Linked DNA regions of Homo sapiens: regions 2, 3, 4, 5 and 6 are each linked to region 1. The links are contacts of gene promoters, found by promoter capture Hi-C in blood cells and fetal thymus (Javierre and others, 2016). All regions are on one chromosome and are shown on one strand. Each heading gives the region's core, a stretch centred on a gene start or on the middle of the fragment in contact. The rest is flanking DNA. Distances are from core to core; before and after follow the strand shown. Region 1 holds the start of KRTAP3-1 (keratin associated protein 3-1). Region 2 has its middle 6.8 kb from the start of KRT33A. Region 3 has its middle 5.3 kb from the start of KRTAP17-1. Region 4 holds the start of KRTAP29-1 (keratin associated like protein 29-1). Region 5 has its middle 7.9 kb from the start of KRTAP9-7. Region 6 holds the start of KRTAP9-6 (keratin associated protein 9-6).

Region 1 (3,106 bases), core at 271-2,770:
TGGCTTCTGATTCCTCTGCATTGTGCAATTTTCTACTTTAGAACTTGAGCCATCTTATCTGAAAAAATGGGTCAAGAAAATATGTACATGTTTTTAAGCCTTTCTAAGTAAGCCATTTCTAAAGGTTTTACCAGTTTAGTATTTTTCATATTCTAAAGTAATTCTAAATCATCATACTAAATTTTCTACCTTTATCTACTTTTAAAACTTTATTTTTAGAGTTTTAGTGGTTTAGATGAAACTCGGAAATGTCTCTATTCTGGACCACAGAGCCTGGAAGTAAGACAGGGGTGTTCAATGTTTTGGCTTCCCTGGGCCACATTGAAAGAAGAATTGTCTTGGGCCACACATAAAATACACTAACACTAATGACAGCTGATGAGCAAAAAAAGAAAAAAAATCACAAAAAAATCTCATAATGTTTTAAGAAAGTTTATGAATTTGTGTTGTGCTGCATTCAATGCCTTTCTGGGCCACAGGTTGAACAAGCTTGCTGTAAGATGTTGCTAAATCTCCCCAAGTATGTTTCATAAAGCACTGACCTATAGAGCTAATCTCTGAAAACAAACAAAAAGCAGTCCATGGTCAAGTAAGTTTGGAGAAAAATATATGCTATATCTCTGTATTGAAAAGTCATAGAGCATTTTAGCACATTAAAGGCTCCGAGAGGCCCAACAATGAAGAATTCAGCATTTCCCAAACTTACTTACCAGAAAACACTTTCAAGTCCCTTGGAACCAGTGTTCATGGAACTCAGTCTGGTAAATACTGCATCATTTAGCTTCTGAATGGCCCAATACAACCAGCCTTTTGGTTATAAATAATCTCCATTTATAACACAGTTGGATGGAGCTTAAAGGACACCCATCTTTGTCACCCATGAAGGTCTTCATTCCCACCTGCATGTTCTTACCAAGTTATTGTTCAGAGCATATTTGAAAGGAATGCAGAACAAACGATTTGTTATAGCTCTGTTTGAAAGTGCCTCTTTACACAAAACCAAAATCTATTTCTCTATAGATTCTATCCATTCATCTTCATTCAGTTTATTGGAGCCACAAATAATAAATCTAAAATGTTATATCACTTTTTCAGCCTGAGGGCCTAAAGGATCACATAGAACCTGTAGTCACTGGTAGAACAGCAAACAAAAAGCTTACTTGTCCTCTTCATCTGAAAAGTAAACAAAAGAAGTGGGAAACGTTTGCAGATGCCTGGCATACCGAGCCATTATTAGTGAGGGTATAATGATTAGAAGATAATGGCCCGGTACCTTTGAAGACTGGAATGAAGATTTCTGTGTAGTGACACACTGGCAATGTGAATAGTCCTAATTTGACAACAAAACAACCTAAATCTCTTTTATGAGGTGAGCAGTGTATCTTAGGTAATAAACACTTAAGTAATTAGGCATTTTTTATGGAAATAACTATAAACTGAAACATGGGGGAAAAACCCTCAGTAATAGGCTGACGCCCAGGGAGATGGGTATATAAGAGCCAGAGCAGAAGAGAGGAGCATCGAGACACCAACAGACTTCTCTCAACTCAACAAAAACCCACCTCCCATTGCCATGTATTGCTGTGCTCTCCGCTCCTGCAGCGTCCCCACCGGCCCTGCCACCACCTTCTGCTCATTTGATAAAAGCTGCCGCTGTGGAGTCTGCCTACCCAGCACCTGCCCACATGAGATCAGCCTCCTTCAGCCCATCTGCTGTGACACCTGCCCCCCACCCTGCTGCAAGCCTGATACCTATGTGCCAACTTGCTGGCTGCTCAACAACTGTCACCCGACTCCCGGACTGAGTGGGATCAACCTGACCACCTATGTTCAGCCTGGCTGTGAGAGTCCCTGTGAGCCCCGCTGTTAACCAGCCGAGTCTGCACAGGTTCCGTGAGGTGGCTGCCCAATGTCCTCTGCACCATCTGGGCTTCAGCACTCACTACTGCCTACATCAAGGCTAAGGCCATCCCAATCCCCGGGGCCAAGTCTTGATGAATCTTCTTAATTATTTGCACATTTGGGTACCATTGGAGACCTCCCTTCTGTCTTTTAGGCTATTTCATCACTCTTTGAGAAATAACCATTTTGACCATTTGTTAATAAACTTTATTCTGGCTTAGCAAATATGACCTTGTGATTATTTATTTTCATGTCTCCCATTAGGGAAAGTGGAATGCCTACCTAAACCTGAACAGTAGGTTATCACACTATCCAAGATTTACCCCAACAGAATAAGAGCTCTCATAGTGGAATTTATCGAAAAAATAGATACTGGTTATTTGTGATAAGTTAAAAAGTAAAAAATGTGGTAGTTCATTTTATAGAAGCTTTTTATTTAACAGATATTTATTTAATAGATATTATTGGAAGACATCCACTGTGCAAGCACTATGCTAGAGTCTAGAGATTAACAGAATGTTTTAAAAATACTTGATTTTAGTTTCCATTGATTCTGACATTGATTTTTCTTTCTTCCTTAATTGACTAAATGAATTGATCACTGTGCTGGTGTGTATAAATAATTTGATTATCCTAGTCCTCACAGTCATCTGAAATTCTGAGCTCAAAATGCAAAGCAATTTTGAGAAGTGTATATATCCATTTCTTCATATATGCTGTCTTCCAAAACAATCCATTTTTAATTAATGTTAGCATTTATCGAGTATTCATTGATTCCTCAAATGGGGCTTACATTGGTTTACATTAGTCATGACTATGATTAGAAGTTTGCTAGTCTAAGTGACATATAATATCATGACATTGAAATATGCTTAAAATATCAGACTACAGTGTAGTATTTTCTATACACCAGAAATAGTCACACAATTCTGAGAGCAAAAACACACAGTTTCTATTAGAACAAAACTACTACGATAACCACTAATTCATGTCCTTATTTATCTTAGAAAAATCTAGGTGCAATTAGGTCTTTGCAAAAAATAAAGGTATTGTGATTATATATATATATATATATATACACACACACACACTTTTGGACTTGCCTTTGGCCTTTGGGCCAATTGCTTCCCTCTCAGTCTCAATTTCCCTGTTATTAAAGTGATTTCCTACCTATAGCGTGGTTTCCTACCTATAGCTTGGTTTC
Region 2 (3,106 bases), core at 280-2,779, 330 kb before region 1:
TGGAAAAGCCTCCATGAAAGACTATTAACCCGGATTTAGTGTTTGGGAAGAAGGTGGTGGGAAACAGAATGGCAAATTCATATGAAGGTGTCTTTAGAGACACAGGAACTATTTATTCTGAAACATTAAGTGGAGGGATCCGAAAACCTTTTGAGTAAAAAAAAAACCTGTACTGAGGTAATATAAATCTATCACCTTAACATATGGTATATAATCTCATATACACATATACATAACCACATACCATATAAGCATATGTACACCACACACACATGCACACACACAACCATGCTGTGCTGAAATGTTTAGGTAGAAAGTAGGAAGGAGCAGCAAAGGGTAGAGGGATATAGTGGCCAGGAGGAGTGTGGGATCTGCTAGGCTGGATGGTGGGGAGGTGCCTTTGGTTCACCTTCCTCTCTTTGTTCCTGCCTCGGCACTCAAGGACTCCTTGTGACTTTCTGTAGTTCTATGATGTGGGCCTGGAACTCTATGCTGGAGTTCTCTGCTCAGTTGCCTGGGGTCTGCGTCAGATGATGGAGAACTGTGAGTGGGTTATTTGGCGGAAAAGTCTCTTTTGTCCTAGTGAGCCTTGAGCTTTGGCCCCACCTGTTTTTATTTATATGCAGTTGGGACCATCATTATGTCACATTACTGCCTTCAGTGGCATCCAGATTTGGCAATGTTTAAAAAAACAAAAACAGCAATCAAGTAAGGAAACCCAAGGCCCAGCCCACAAATGAGATTGAGTCTCATTTTTCACTTCTCTACTCCTACTTTTCTAAATCAATGATTGAAATGAAGAGATATTGAGAATGGGAACTCTTAATAGAGATTAGAATATCATCAACCTATGAGAACAGGTAGGGAGGGGCAGGAGGTAGAGTGGGGGTTGGAAATTCTCTCCAAAACTTGCAGACCATATATTTAGGTGTGGTAGAGATGTCCAGGGAAAAATACCCAAAACCTTCCATTCAGGGCTGTGGATACCAGAGGACAGCTAAGGAGACCAGCCCTCAACAGTTGCTCGTGGCCACCTTCTTCCCTTAGGTGCGGACCAGTCCTCTCTTTTGCGTTAGGGCTAACATAGAGAGAATGCTGAGTCTCAAAGATTGGTCACTCGCTACTCCATTTGTCTTCAGCAGCACAGTCCTATAGAATGGAGAACAGATGTTCCTGAGGATCTGAGAGTCTGGGCTCCTTTTTAGTGGAAGATCATGTATATAAAACATTTCTTTATTTGAGTTTGGAAGAGAAGAATCAGTAGAAAAGGTCTTTATAAACTTTAAAAATAACCTGGATAGGATACAGATTTCAATTAAATCAATGTAGAAAGTCACCTCATCATTAATCATGAATGTCTGCTGCTTGCTTGGAAGGAGGAGATAAATAATGGGTTCAGAATCCTTTCTTTCTCTCTTGTATATTTCAGCAACAATGCAGAGGCAGGAAAAAAAAAGCAAGAATTCTTAAAGGCGAGGTTCTGTTATTCAACCCTGGGCTTTCCCAGGTGCAAACTTAATTTCTCCTTTCTGCAGGTTCCCAGGTCTGCAGTCGCTGAGGTCATCAGCTCCTCGAGCCAGGCCTTCTCAGAAAACAGTGCTCTGAGGGGAGAGGCCCATAGCAAGGAAGCAAGGAAACAAGACCCTGGGAAATGTCTCCTAATCCCTGCCCCACCCTTCCCTGTGAAATAAACCATGATGGCGCTGGGCTATGAGTCTTACCCACTAGGAGATGGTGTGGGATGCTGTGATGAGAAGAAGAATTATGGCTTGTTTTGGAGGCAACATTTTTTGGTCCTGGTTTTGGATATATTGTTGACTCCCCTGACCATCAGAGTCCTCCTTTTGAGAGACCTGGCCTGGCAGCATTGTGGGGTTGTGAAGATCCCCTGTGTATGGAAGTGCTTTATAAATGGTGCAGCATGGTACCTATGTAAGACTCAGTATTCTTGTTGTTGACACTTTGACCTTGAATACGAATTCCTGGGCTCTTGGGATCTAAGTTTGATATTGTCTAGTCCCAGTAAAACATTCTACTCAGCCTCCTAACAGCCTGTTTGCTCCTATTTTTGACAGATGTGAACCGAGCTCCTATTGTCTCAGTTTGGAGAGCTTGCCTGAGAGGTGACATTTGCATTGAGACCTGAAAACAGAGAAGAAACAGAGCAGAGGGAAAGAGCTTTCCAGAGAGAGGGACAGAAAGTCAAGGAAGGGAGGGAGTAAGGCAGTTGCCTTTGAAGAAGGGAGCAAGGCCAGGGCATCGGGAGTGATGAGTAGGGGAGGAACAATCAGCCTGTATGTGTGGGCAGTGGCCAGGGTACATGGGGGCTCGCCAGTTCTGTGGAGGATCCGATTTCATTTCAAGGGAAGAGGAAAGCCTTGGGAGAGTTAAAAGGATGAATTTGATTGACACTTTTATTAAAAGGAGTGCATTGGCAGCTGAATGGAAAATAGGTTTACTGAACACTAACATTTAAAGTTTCAGGGTAGTGGATGACAATTACAAGTCAGGTATGTCTTCTTTTATGTTTCAAAGAAGAATCACTGACATCTAACAACAACTGCTCACATTTCTCATCAAAAACAGGAGAGTCTGGCAGCAGGCACCAAAAGTCCCAAGAATGGCTCCAACTATAAAAGGATATGAGGATGACATGATCTGTCCCTTGTTATTGCAAAATGCACACTGACAACTTGATGAAGTTATGTGCCAGGCAGGTGGGCCCCGGCCCCACCAGGCTCCTCGCTGAGCCTGCTGCAGGTGTGCAGAGGTAGCTTTCCCTCACTCTCACTTTTTTTTTTTAAACTTGTAGGGACAAGCACAGGACTGAAATGTAAAGTGTAGGGGGAGCCCTTGAAACTATTGCTATGGAATAAAAGATGAAATGCTCCTGATTATTGTAAATACAAAGTTGCATGCAGGATTGTGTAAAGACAATGCCAGGCTGGACTACCAGAATAAGCCAACAGCGTGTGATGTGCTTCCCCCTGCAGAGTCTATGAACGGAAGGGCAGGCAGGGATGTTTCACATCACCAAGATTCCTATCCCAGAAAAGCAGATGTTCATAGCTCTGAGAACGGAATGCGACCCTTGAGGAGAGCCTAT
Region 3 (3,106 bases), core at 396-2,895, 310 kb before region 1:
ACACTAGAAGCTGCTTGTGTAATATCATGAGATGAACACTAGAGGCTGCCAGAACAGACGACATGATTGCGTTTTTGATCTCTACATTCTGTTCTTTCTTGTACAGAAACTATTTTTTTTATTTATTAGAGACAGGGTCTCGCTCCATTGCCCAGGCTGGAGTGTAGTGGCTTGATCATGGCTCCTTGAGCTCAGTCACTGCAGCCTTGAGCTCTTAGGCTCAAGCCATCCTCCTGCCTCAGCCTTCTGAGTAGCTGGGACTACAGGCATGCACCACCACACCCAGCAAATTTTTTATTTTTTAATTTTTTGTAGAGGCAGGATCTTGTCAGCAAACTTCATTTAATAGGCAGTCAAGTTCCCCAATTAGGAAAACTAGGATTTTTTTTTTTTTTTGTAAAGCAGTATCTGCCACACACCAAAGTAAATTCCTGATGGATAGCAGCATTAAGTATAAAAAATACAACCATAAAATAGATGAAAATAAAGCAAATAGTTGTCTGATTTGGGGATGGAGGAGAACTTTTGAAACAAAACACTAGGAAAAAAAGATTTCCCTACATAGAAAGAAATTTCTGTGCGTAAAAATATAGACACAACTAAAAGAAAGTGATACACCCTGGGACAAATTTTGCAACATGTGTGAGTGACACAACGAAAAGTTAATATACCTGGCATAATAAAATAAGTTCATATAAGTAAGGTGGGAAAGATGGGTAGCTAATTAGAATGAGCAGATAATTTCTAAAAAGGAAATAACAGTGGCCTATAAAAATATGCAATGATAATTACTAAGTACAAATAAATACTATAATGAGACTTCATAATTGGCCTACCCAATTGACAAAGAGATTTTAAAAATAACAACTAATATTGGCGAAGGCACTGTGAAGTGAACACAAATGAGGACAATTTTTCTGGAGAGTAATTAAAAAAATAATTTCAACTTTTCTTTTGGATTCAGGGGGTATACGTGTAGGTTTGCTACCTGGGTATATATGCTGAGGTTTGTGGTACAATTGATCTCATCATCCAGATAGTGAGCATAGTAACCAATAGTTAGTTTTTCTACCCTTGCTCCTCTCCTTCCCTTTCCCCTCTCATAGTCTCCAGTGTCTATTGTTGCCATATTTACGTCCATGTGAATTCACTGTTTAGCTCCCACTTGTAAGTGAGAACACATGGTATTTAGCTTTCTGTTCTTGTATTAATTCACTTAGGATAATGGCCTCCAGCTGCATCCATGTTGCTGCAAATGACATGATTTTTTTTTTTATGGCCAGGTAGTATTCCATGGTGTATGTGTGCCACATTTTCCTTACATAGTCCACTGCTGATGGGCATTTAGGCTGATTCTATGTCTTTGCTATTGTGAATAGTGCTGCAATGAACATATAAGTGGATGTGTGTTTTTTTGGTAGAACGATTTATTTTCTTTTGGATGTATACCCAGTGATATAATTTGGATCTGTGTTCCTGCCCAAATCTCATGTTCAGTTGTTAATTCCCAGCGTTGCAGGTGGGTCCTGGTGGGAGGTGATTGGATCACAGGGGTGATTTCTGATGAATGGTTTAGCACTAGCCCCCTTGGTTGTGATAGTGAGTGAGTTCTTGTGAGATCTGGTCATTTAAAAGTGTGTAGCATCTCCCCACTCTCTCTCTTCCTCCTGCCCTGGCCATGTGAAGTGCCAGCTACCCTTTGCCTGCTGCCATGATTGTAAGTTTTCTGAGGCCTCCCCAGAACCTGAGAAGATGCCTGCATCATGCTTCCTGTATAGCTTATGAAACTGTGAGCCAATTAATCCTCTTTTCTTTCTAAATTACCCAGTCTCAGGCATTTCTTCATAGTAGTGCAAGAACAGACTAATACACCCAGTAATGGGATTGCTGGGTTGAATGGTAGTTCTATTTGAAGTTCTTTGAGAAATCTCTAAACTGCGTTCCACAGTGGCTGAACTAATTTACATTCCCACCAACAGTGTATAAGCGGTCCCTTTTCTCTACACCCTCACCAACATCTGTTGTTTTTTGACTTTTTAATAATTGCCATTCTGACTGGTGTGAGATGGTATCTTACTGTGGTTTTGATTTGCATTTCTCTGATGATTAATGATGTGGAGCATTTTTTCACATGTTTGTTGACCACTCGCATGTCTTCTTTTGAGAAGTGTCTGTTCATGTCTTTTGCCCACTTTTTAACAGGGTCATTTGTTTTTTCCTTGTTGAATTGTTTAAGTTTTTCATAGATTCTGGATATTAGATCTTTTTTGGATGCATAGTTTGTGGATATTTTCTTCCATTCTATAGGTTATCTGTTTACTCTGTTGATAGTTTCTTTTACTGTGCTGAAGCTCTTTCATTTAAATAGATCCCACTTGTCAATTTTTGTTTTTGTTGCATTTGTTTTTGAGAACTTAGTAATGCATTTTTTCCCAAGACTAGTGTTCAGAATGATGTTTCCTAGTTTTTCTTCTAGGATTCTTATAGTTTGAGGCCTTACATTTAAATCTTTAATCCATCTTGAGTTAATTTTTCTATATGGTGAAATACAGAGGTTGTTTAATTCTTCTGCATATGGCTAGCCAGTTATCCCAGCACCATTTATTGAATCGGGAGTCCTTTCCCCAATGCTTATTTTTGTTAACTTTGTCAAAGATCAGGTGGCTGTAGGTGAGCAGCTTTATTTCCGGATTCTCTATTCTGTTCCATTGTATATGTCTGTTTTTGTACCAGTACCATGCTGTTTTGGTTACTGTAGCTTTACACTATAGTTTGAAATTGGGTAACGTGATACCTTCCACTTTGTTCTTTCTGCTTAGGATTGCATTGGCTCTTTGGGATCTTTTCTGGTTCCATATGAAATTTAGAATAGTTTTTTCAAATTCTGTTAAAAATGATGTTGGTAGTTTGATAGTGTTGATTCTGGAGCCATGTTGCAACAGATACTGTATACTTACATCATTTTATATATATCTTGATATATCCCTGTCGTAAACTCTTAGAATATAAATTATTGGATCAATTAGTTTTTGCATTGGTAATTTTGATGGATATTGCCATAAAGGTTGTACCAATTTACACTCCCATCAGCAATGTGTGAGACTAT
Region 4 (3,106 bases), core at 370-2,869, 290 kb before region 1:
CTGAGACATGACAACGCAGTTGATGAAATCGCCATACTTTGAAGACTTAGGTAATTAGCTAACATATTCAACAGAATGAGTTAGTGGCAGAGCCAGAAATCAAGGCCAGCCCCATCTGGCTCCCCACACCGTGATCTTTCCACTCCGTCATGTGCCTCCAGCGTGAACCGGCCAGAACGTTGGCTGGTGTAGAACACCGGACCTGGTTGGTGATGCGGAGCCAGGACAAGCCCGGAGGAAAAGCAGAAGGGCCAAGAAAGTCCCTCACGAATTCCTCTTGGAAGGGATTGGTTTAACATTAACACCACTTTACAGTGATTTTTTTTATTATCACTGCTGGCGTGTTTTTATTTGTATAGAATTCATATGCTATTGATGCCCTAGGGTGGGTTTGATACTTCCTGATGAAATATTTGGTAGTTTAAAAAATTTCCAAAATTAAAAGACTGTGTTTGAGTGTATTGATAAGTAGAGGTAAGTACTCACACCAGTGTGGTCTAGCTGCTGATTACAGTCACTGGAGTGGGCGGAGGATCCCCAGGATGGGGCCTGGGCAACCTGCTCACGAGCCAGTCTGTTGCCATAGGGGTGTCAGCCTGCAGCCACTATATCAGTGTCGCCTTCTCCCTGCCTCCCCAAAGTCAGGGGGTCTAATAGGTGGTTAAGATCAGGGGTTTGGTGGTCAGACAAAGCTAGGTTTGAATTTTGTTTCTACCCCTTTTCATTTGCATAATTTTGGGAACATGATTTAAACTCTATGAGTTTTGCCACTTCTGTTTTCTTCTTTTCTGTTCTAAAAAAATCTTGAGAGGAACCAATTTGGGGGAGATTTTAAGCTTCCTAAAAGGGCCAATGAAGTTTTATATTTTAATCTTAACTTTGTTTTAAACCTGGTTTCTTCTTTATTTATTACTTTTTTTTAGTTTTGCCACTTCTAACATAGTGATGACAATTATACTTACTGAAGTCATTGTGAGGATCCAGTGAAAAATGCAGCCAAGGACTTGATCTAGTAACTATGCAATAAATGAAAGCCATTTCTATTGTTATTATTAGTAATAGTACTAGTAAACAAGTTTCAGGAATGATAAATGGGAAGGTTTTAAAAAGAGGTAGAGGCACTTAAGTGTCCCTGGGTTCCTTGGACTAATTTTCCATTTCCCGTCTTGACATCCTCTCCCCAAACTGGGTCAAGGCTTCATTTCTGATTGAATGGTGCAAAGCTGCATTCCTGGAGGAACAGCAGGGCCACTCTGGCTTGGCAGAGGCCTCCTGATGAAAGGTTAGTGCCAGGAAAGGCCTGCTTCAGTGAGGCTGGAGAGCAACCTGTAAAAGAGACAGCTCATCCAAGAGCAGGAGCAGTGTCAACGAATCCAAATGCAGCGCAGAAAACTCCCGACTCAACAGACACCTTTTCAAAGTTGAAACATCTCCCAGGCTCCTGAAGCCTGCTAATCAGATGTTTGCATGCAAATGAGTAAAAACAATAACAAGGAAAGATGCTGCATGGCGTGCCAACACCCCTAGTGAAGGACTATAAAAGCCCCTCTGTATCGGATGTCTTTCCAATGCAGGTATACTGAGCTTGCAACTTCCCAGCAAGGTCAGCACCAGCACCATGGCAGACGGCTGTTGTCCTGGAAACACCACAGCCATTCCAGCTGTGCCCACCATCACCACATACCCAGTTAAAGGTGGATTTCGACATGCTCTCTGTTTGCCTAGTTCCTGCCACAGCAGAATGTGGCAACTGGTCACATGCCAAGAAAGCTGTCAGCCATCCATTGGTGCCCCAAGTGGCTGTGATCCTGCTTCGTGTCAACCTACCCGCCTTCCAGCAACGTCTTGTGTGGGTTTTGTTTGCCAACCTATGTGCTCCCACGCAGCCTGCTATCAGTCTGGCACTGGTCAGTCTCCTTGTCTGGTTAGCTCATGTCAGCCATCCTGCTCGGAATCTACTTGTTGTCAGGAAAAGTGCTGCGATGCCAGTCCCTGCCAGCAAAGCTCCTGCCAGGAATCTGTCTGCATGTCTGGATCATGTCAGGCAGCTTGTGGCCAATCAGTCTGCTGTGATGCTGGATCCTGCCAGCCATCCTGCTCTGAAGTGACCTCCTGTCCGGAAACTTCTTGCCTACCAACCATCTGTACAGCTAGTCCATGCCAACCAACTTGGTGCCAAGGAAGTTCATGTCAACCCGTCAGTGGTGAAGGCCAGCCCTGTAAATCAACTTATTATCAACCCATCTGCTATATTTTCAAGCCTTGCCAATCAGCCCTCTACATGCCTGTTCCCTGCCAGCCATCGACTTGTGTGTTCAGTTCTTGCAATACTACTTGCTGTGTGCCTTCCCATTGCCAGCCACCTCACTGCCAACTGGTTCCTTCCACATGCTTCATCTACCAGCCAGTGGCTAACTGCCAGGCCCCTTGTTCCACAAAGAACTGTTGCAAACCAGCTTCTTGTGACACTGTGATTTCTGGCCAACCAACTTGTGATGGACCCCCTTCCTATAACCAGAGTGGCTGCAAATCAGCTTGCTGTGTGACTGGTTTAGGCACATCACCCAGTAGTGGCTCCAATTGCTTGCCGACTTCATGCCAACCCAGCTGTGAGTCCAGCTTCTGCAAGGCAACACTTTGTTAATGGAGCCCTCTTCACACCTCCTCTGAGGGTCTGCGGCTGTCTATAAATGCATAGCCATCCCTGGGTGCCTGCCTCCCACCGAGTACAAATGCTGCCTGCTTTCTAACTTTACCCTGATTCCACCTTCACATTCTCTCCAGGTGCTGACCAGGGAACTTGTCCAGGCACGAAGAGATCCTTCTTAACCGAGAATAACCTTTCAGCAACCATGGACTACCACACTGCTGCTTGCATTTCCTGATGATGTCAATTCATTTCACTTTAGCAAACCCTCTCTTGTTTCTCTTTCTTGATGCTGCCTGGTCTTTCAGAAGACCTCGTTGCTGCCAGCTGCTAATAAAAATGTGACTGGTTAAGTATAATAAATAAGACTCCTGGAGTGCTTTCATTCCTACACACACCTCTATGTAGATTTCCTTCAGGTCACATTTGAACACAATGAGCCTGAGTCATCTAAGTCAG
Region 5 (3,106 bases), core at 282-2,781, 270 kb before region 1:
CAAGTTATCCTGACATGCAATAGAAATATTACAAATAGTCAACAGATATGATGGTAGACATGAACTAAACCAAATATAAATTTCATCATGGATGCTCACCATGCAATGGTGTGAATGAGAATGCATTGGTACAGTCAGATATCATCCAAGACTTGGAACCTATGTTCAAAACGATCAAAACCAAATTATGTAGCGTCACCTTAAAAAGATGTATGCATTCAAAGTCTGAGGAATTGATTCAAGTCTAATTGAAGATGTAAAAATGTGAAAGTTAAATTAGAGTATTGTTGAACCATGGAAAATCAGGGTTAAGACAAGTGCTGGGGTGAATGTTGGCAGTGTGCCTCCAGGCAACTGCCCACAGGAGAGGGACTATGAATTTTCAATTTCCATTGGTGAGAACTATTGTGAAACGAACATGTCAAATGCCATTCAACATTTAGTTTATATAACTTCCTGTCTGATTCCTTACTCATGTGGTGTTTTAGAAGTTCCTGTTACTTAATTCTCCTGTAATTTAATAAATAGGCATCCTTGCTTTTTGGGCTTGGCTAACAGGTGTCTGCTCTAAGACGTGGCTTAACCCTTAGAATGTAAGCAAAATCAGGTCTCTGAGTCTGCAAGGCTAAAGGCCAGAACCAGGTACATTTATCAAGGGTTGTGAATTCTACCTTGCATGCCATTGGGGAGATAGTCCTTATTTTTTTTTTTTTTTTATCTCCAAGGGAATGCCAATTATCATGACAGTGTGTATGCTTTCTTTAAAGCATTATGTATGTGAATGCTTACGGAGTTCAGAGAATAACAACCTGTTAGCAATTAATTAATCAAATAATGATGGGGCAAGACAGAGTGTTTAAGGATCTCAAAGAATCTCAGGCATGGAAGGAATCCTAATAAACTTCCTGCCATGTGTTGCCAGATCCAATGCTTAAGTGTCTAGTAAATGGAAATTCATACACCCGGGGTGGTCTGTTCCATTCCTAGGAAGATCTTTTAAAGAGCTTTTAGAGAATTTCTGTACTCACTCTAGACCCCCTGAACTTTTTCCTCATTAGAAGCATCTGTGACTAAGCAATCAGAATGGCTTTTCTGAGCGCTTCCCTACCCTTAGCTCCATCCTCTATTCCAGTGCCCTTTGCTGGAAAATCACATTCATGTTCCTGTAAATAGCCAATTATCTTCCTGCTCTGTAGAATGCAGTTCCAGCCAAACAAGCATTTCCTTGCCTTGCTATCACAAATTTTTACATGGTCCTTTTGCAGCAAGTTTATCATCACTAACCTTTGCTTACCAAGTCCTTCTCATTGTTAAAATCTAGATCAAGGTGGTTTACCTGGTTGCCTAAGAACCTTCTGCTCAATTTTAGTGATTCTGAGGTCCCCACAAAATAGCTAGATTGTTGGATGTTCCTTCATCCCTTCTCCTCCCATGTGTGCTGGTTTTGTGATCTGCCTTTGCAATGTATCATCAATTTCCTGTGTTTGGCCAGGAAGACTGCAGTATGTCCACACAAAGAGAGCTCATGGGTTCATCTTCCCTTCTTTGTTCATGCACAGGTTTTCCACTGTGGAAGAAGGCAGGAAAGTCTGGGCCATGAGGATCGAAATCACATAGATGAGTATTTGCATCATGCCTGTTCTGCTACCTACAAGCTGCAGGCTTTGGGGGAAGTACTTAATATATTCCAACCATGTTTTATTGTTTCTGCATTTACATTTTTGGGGAATTTTTGTACCTGAGTTCTTTCAGTATCACCCCTGTTGTTCTACTTGGTAAATTGATTCATGGGTTCAAAATGGAAGTTTTTTATTTCCTTCCCTCTCTGATTCGTTGCTAAGATACAATTCTGTTAGATACAGTCGTCATGAACCACCCTTCCTATATCATTAATAATATAGGCTCACCTTCCTCACTTCTACTGTATAAATTTTGTCTCTTGTTTGTATTCTTCCCGAAGCACAATAAAGGTGAGGATGTTGAATGTCTCGTTCACTTCTGTAATCACAGCACCTGGCACAGTACTTAACACACAGTAAGTGCTCAATAAATCTTATTTAAATAAAGGATTGTTTTAATATCCAGATGTAAGTCTTTATTCTTATTCACTCTCCCGAAGTCCCAACTATTGGTAGAATAAGGAAATGAGACTGTGTGAGGGTACCAAGTAATTTGCTGTCATATTCAAGACTCCATAGACCCGGTTATGTCTCTAGACTGGTAGGGGCAGGGAGCATAGCACACACAGTGAGTGTAGTGTAGACAGCTTAGTGTTTGAAGCCAGGTCAACTGTTAACTGTACAACTTTGAACAAGTTCCTTCATCTCCCTTAGCCTCTGTTTCTTCATCTGTGAAATGAGGAAAATAAAACATTGGTGGATTATGAATTAGAAAAACCTAGACTAATACCTGTAGTTACTCAGTAAATGGTAGTGCCTCAGCTCATCCTTGAATGCATCAGGAGAGCAAGCACTTAGCAAGTCAGACAACATGGAAGCCTCTTTGGAAAATCCCTCCACCTTCTTAGATTTCCTAAGACCTAACTACTATGTGATAGCTCAGGCCACAGAATATTATTTTTCCCCTGGAGCCAGTATCTGTTCTTTTTTTTCAAGAAATATCTTGGTATCCTCTTTGGTGTTCAGCTCTTCGGAAAGTCTAGCTCCCACTTTGGGGGACTACAATAACGTCTATTGTCATTATATCCAGTATACTTTTTAAGAGTGACCAGTTTCCTTTATTTTCTTTCTCAAATCCTTATGTTTTCTTTTTCTAATACTCTGATGTTGAATCTCCTCTGCTTCAACTTTGCCTCACAACATTGAGGCACTGGTTGGATCAAAGCATTATATACCCATTGCTCAGTTACTTCAATTCTGAGGATTCTGTAAATATGCACTACCCTTATAATCCTCTGATTGAGAAGCTAGGTTGATCCAGCATTTGGAGCACAGAAACTGTGTCTTGTGCGCATTGCAGGGTGTTTCTTAGTCTTTTTTGTTCAAGTATTCTGCATTTTTAGGTAGAAAAGTGACCTACATGTACAAGACATTTCATTTTCATTTGTCAACAAGCAACTCAAATCATACACCTTCCCTAAAACTCA
Region 6 (3,106 bases), core at 445-2,944, 260 kb before region 1:
CCTCACTCAGGGCAGCTATTAAATGCCGTCCCTGTTGTCATCCCATGTAGCTATTACTCACTGAGGTGTGGAAAACTAATTTGGGAAGACCTTTGTGAACAGAAATGTCGTCTGCAAATATGAGAGATTATACCTCCCACATTAAATAAACTCAAGTGCATGTCTTGCTATTGCTGAGTCTCAATATCATTTCTACTTTACCGAGAGTTAAATGTAAGTGTTCTTGGGCAGAAAGAGAAGCTCTCACCTTGGACTAGAGTCTGTCCTTTATTAGCTACATAAAATCACACACTAAATTGTTCTCAGCTGAAAAATTGAGGTAATAATACATAATAATAACTCTGTTTTCAGAATCAAATTGGATAATACATATAGCATGCAATATGTGTGTAAATCTCATATCAGCAATTCTGTAAAATAAAACACCATATGAGATGAAGGATGGTTCAGAATTTATTCAGAAATATATAGGTAAGAATCCCTGCTACTAGGGACATAGCCCAAAGTTACAATGAAAAGAAGAAAGAAGGGTAAAAGAAACATGAGGACAAAATTGAAAACAAAAATATGATTGCAAAGATTATTGATCAGTTGCAGAAACCTAAGTTTCTTAGAAGGAGAGAATGAAGCTCTTGACTTTAGAGTCGAATGGAGACCATGTCTCCACATTGAGAACACATGAAGCTGGCACATGATCCACAAAGTGTAAGGAAAAAAGAATCAGGATGAAGTATTCTGCCCTCCCTCAAGCTGATTCCCAAGATTTTAAACAGGCAAAGAAATAAAAAAAATTGGTGAAAGCATACTGTGTATCAGTAAAGTTTGAAAGTAAATCTGTCTTCTGAAAGATAAGTGAGTTGGGTCTGGGTGTGGTAGCTCACACCTGTAATCCCAGCACTTTGGGAGGCTGAGGCAGGTGGATCACCTGAGGGCAGGAGTTCCAGACAAGTCTGATCAACATGGTGAAAACTACTAAAAATACTAAAAATACAAAAAATTAGCCAGGCGTGGTGGCACAGGCATGTAATCCCAGCTACTCAGGAGGCTGAGGCAGGAGAATCACTTGAACCCAGAAGATGGAGGTTGCAGCGAGCCGAGAGCGTGCTACTGCACTCCAGCCTGGGTGACAGTGAGGCTCCGTCTCAAAAGAAAAAAAAGGTCAGTTGAGCAGAAGGTTGTTGTGTGAGGATGATGGTCCTCTGTGGTGCTGCTCAGCAACAAGAATGCTGGCAGCAGCTGGACACACAGCAGGCTGGGCAGTAGCAGGGCTGGCAGCAGCTGGATCCACAGCTCTGGTTGAGGCAACCAGGCAGGCAGACAGTCGTGGGGTGGTAGCAGGTTCTTCTGCAGTACACAGGTGCACAGGAGCTGCTCTGGCCACAGCTGGACCCACAGCTGGTTTGGCCACAGCAGCTGGACCCACAGCAGATGGGCTGGTAGCAGGGTGTGCTGCAGCAGGAAGGCTGGCAGCAGCTGGTCACACAGGTGGGCTGGCAGCAGGTGGTCCTGCAGCAGGTGTTTTGACAGCAAGTTGGGTGGCAGTAAGGCTGGCAGCAGCTGGACACACAGCAGGAGGGCTGGCAGCAGGGTGTGCTGCTGCAGGTGGTCACAATGGTGGGCTGCCAGCAGGTAGTCCTGCAGCAAGTGGTCCTGCAGCAGGTAGGCTGACAGCCAGGGGAGCAACAGTGGGTCATGTTGTCAGGGGTGGAGGGTGGGCTTCTGTTCAGAGGTGAGTTTCCCAGGATTTGATGACCCCTTGCAATCTGGACCTTTTATACATGTGGCCTCCAAAGTTTCCACCAATCAGCAGGATTTTTCTTTCTTGCTGTTTACAGTTGTTTTCCATAGTCAGTTTGGCATTGTCAAAGAGGAAGTCATTTCCTAAATGTTATGAATCTTTGGAAAGTAAGGGTTTAATCTGTTTCTTAATTGTAAATTACTCGTAGAAACTTTGTTTCAGATAAAAGGAAGGCAGTCTCATCATCAGCTTCGTTCCTGCTCTGACCAGCATCTCGTCATGTGATAGTTCCTGGTGACTGGGGAGGCTCAGGAAGTTCTCTCTGCCCAGTCTCATCCTTTGGCTGTATGTAGACTGGGAAGTGTCTGTGGGGAGAAGCATGATGTTGATATATTCACAGTGGTGAATTGAATCCATGCTTGGGACCAAGACTGTTCACCCACCAAAGTCTGATTCAAGACTGATAGGCATCTCTCTATGTACAACCTACTTTACCTGTCTCTTCCAGTTCTATAAAAGCCTCTTGGGAAGAGGGTGTTCAGCACAATGTGTGCTATGTGGCAGAGCAGAGCCAAAGCAAACACGTAGAAAGAGGAGGGGTTCACTGGAATTCACAAAGCATCAAGCAATCTACGTGCTGCGGTGACCATTCACCCTGATTTGTCTGGGACTGAGGGGCTTACCAGCATGAGAATGTGGGACTGGGAATTACTGTGACATTACTGCTTGAGGTCCAGGCAAAGCAATATGAGCTGTGGCTCTAGCCCTAATCCAGGTTACTGGCACAATCATTGCCATTTCTCTGTCTCTGTCTCTGTCTCTGTCTCTGTCTCTGTCTCTCTCTCTCTCTCTCTCTCTGTCTCTCTGTTTTCAGTGAGGGAATTAGGTGAGTTGAGATGATATCTGATTCCTCTTTGAGGTTTACCATTGTTTAAAACTTTTTAAATTATACCATTCATTTCAGAAGAGTGCAAATTATGAATTCCAACTTGATATAATATTACATTATAAATACATCTAAGTCCCCATTACCAGTTTACAAAATAGAAATTAATTCCATTCCCTCCAAATTATATCTTTTTACTTATCTCCAAAGGTAGCTAGTCACTCTATCAAGTTTTAATCCTGTAGGTCAGTTTTGTTTTTTTCTTTGACTTTTATGTAAATAAAAATTATAGAATTTGCTTCACTGTGTTTTTGGCATAATCAAAAGCAGCAATTATAACCTGGTCATTTCATTTTGGATCCTTCATGTTAGCAGACCAGCAGGTAGATAAAGGAGTTAATATTCCATGAGGGATAATTTTCGTGAAGCCATAGAGCGTAGGGAGAATATATCTGAAACTCAAGAAATTTACTATATATATT

Evidence for each region. The method cuts DNA at HindIII sites, captures the fragments that hold promoters and counts their contacts. A CHiCAGO score of 5 or more calls a contact.
Region 2: a contact is called between a fragment that was not itself captured here and the fragment with the promoter of KRTAP3-1 in region 1, in 7 of 17 cell types (endothelial precursors, naive B cells, megakaryocytes and 4 more). The highest score is 10.1, in endothelial precursors.
Region 3: a fragment that was not itself captured here is called in contact with the fragment with the promoter of KRTAP3-1 in region 1 in 17 of 17 cell types (naive B cells, endothelial precursors, megakaryocytes and 14 more); the score reaches 16.1 in naive B cells.
Region 4: the fragment with the promoter of KRTAP29-1 here is called in contact with the fragment with the promoter of KRTAP3-1 in region 1 in 13 of 17 cell types (endothelial precursors, M2 macrophages, naive B cells and 10 more); the score reaches 17.0 in endothelial precursors.
Region 5: a contact is called between a fragment that was not itself captured here and the fragment with the promoter of KRTAP3-1 in region 1, in 5 of 17 cell types (endothelial precursors, naive B cells, total B cells and 2 more). The highest score is 7.4, in endothelial precursors.
Region 6: a contact is called between the fragment with the promoter of KRTAP9-6 here and the fragment with the promoter of KRTAP3-1 in region 1, in 9 of 17 cell types (endothelial precursors, naive B cells, activated CD4 T cells and 6 more). The highest score is 11.8, in endothelial precursors.

The regions. Positions count from the first base shown.
Region 1 is chr17:41,007,542-41,010,647 of GRCh38, reverse strand. KRTAP3-1 (keratin associated protein 3-1) reads left to right here and starts at 1,520. Exons shown (of 1, transcript NM_031958.2): 1 at 1,520-2,127. The coding sequence starts at 1,574. The coding sequence ends at 1,870. The HindIII fragment of the contact is 1,175 bases long and covers 1,158-2,332 here.
Region 2 is chr17:41,342,434-41,345,539 of GRCh38, reverse strand. No RefSeq gene overlaps it. Among named protein-coding and RNA genes, the nearest start is that of KRT33A, 6.8 kb to the left of the region's middle. The HindIII fragment of the contact is 4,681 bases long and covers 1-3,106 here.
Region 3 is chr17:41,319,444-41,322,549 of GRCh38, reverse strand. No RefSeq gene overlaps it. Among named protein-coding and RNA genes, the nearest start is that of KRTAP17-1, 5.3 kb to the right of the region's middle. The HindIII fragment of the contact is 3,454 bases long and covers 1-3,106 here.
Region 4 is chr17:41,301,364-41,304,469 of GRCh38, reverse strand. It overlaps KRTAP29-1 (keratin associated like protein 29-1), which reads left to right and starts at 1,619. Exons shown (of 1, transcript NM_001257309.1): 1 at 1,619-2,644. The coding sequence starts at 1,619. The coding sequence ends at 2,644. The HindIII fragment of the contact is 6,603 bases long and covers 839-3,106 here.
Region 5 is chr17:41,282,081-41,285,186 of GRCh38, reverse strand. No RefSeq gene overlaps it. Among named protein-coding and RNA genes, the nearest start is that of KRTAP9-7, 7.9 kb to the right of the region's middle. The HindIII fragment of the contact is 8,650 bases long and covers 1-3,106 here.
Region 6 is chr17:41,263,966-41,267,071 of GRCh38, reverse strand. It overlaps KRTAP9-6 (keratin associated protein 9-6), which reads right to left and starts at 1,694. Exons shown (of 1, transcript NM_001277331.1): 1 at 1,212-1,694. The coding sequence starts at 1,694. The coding sequence ends at 1,212. The HindIII fragment of the contact is 5,841 bases long and covers 1-3,106 here.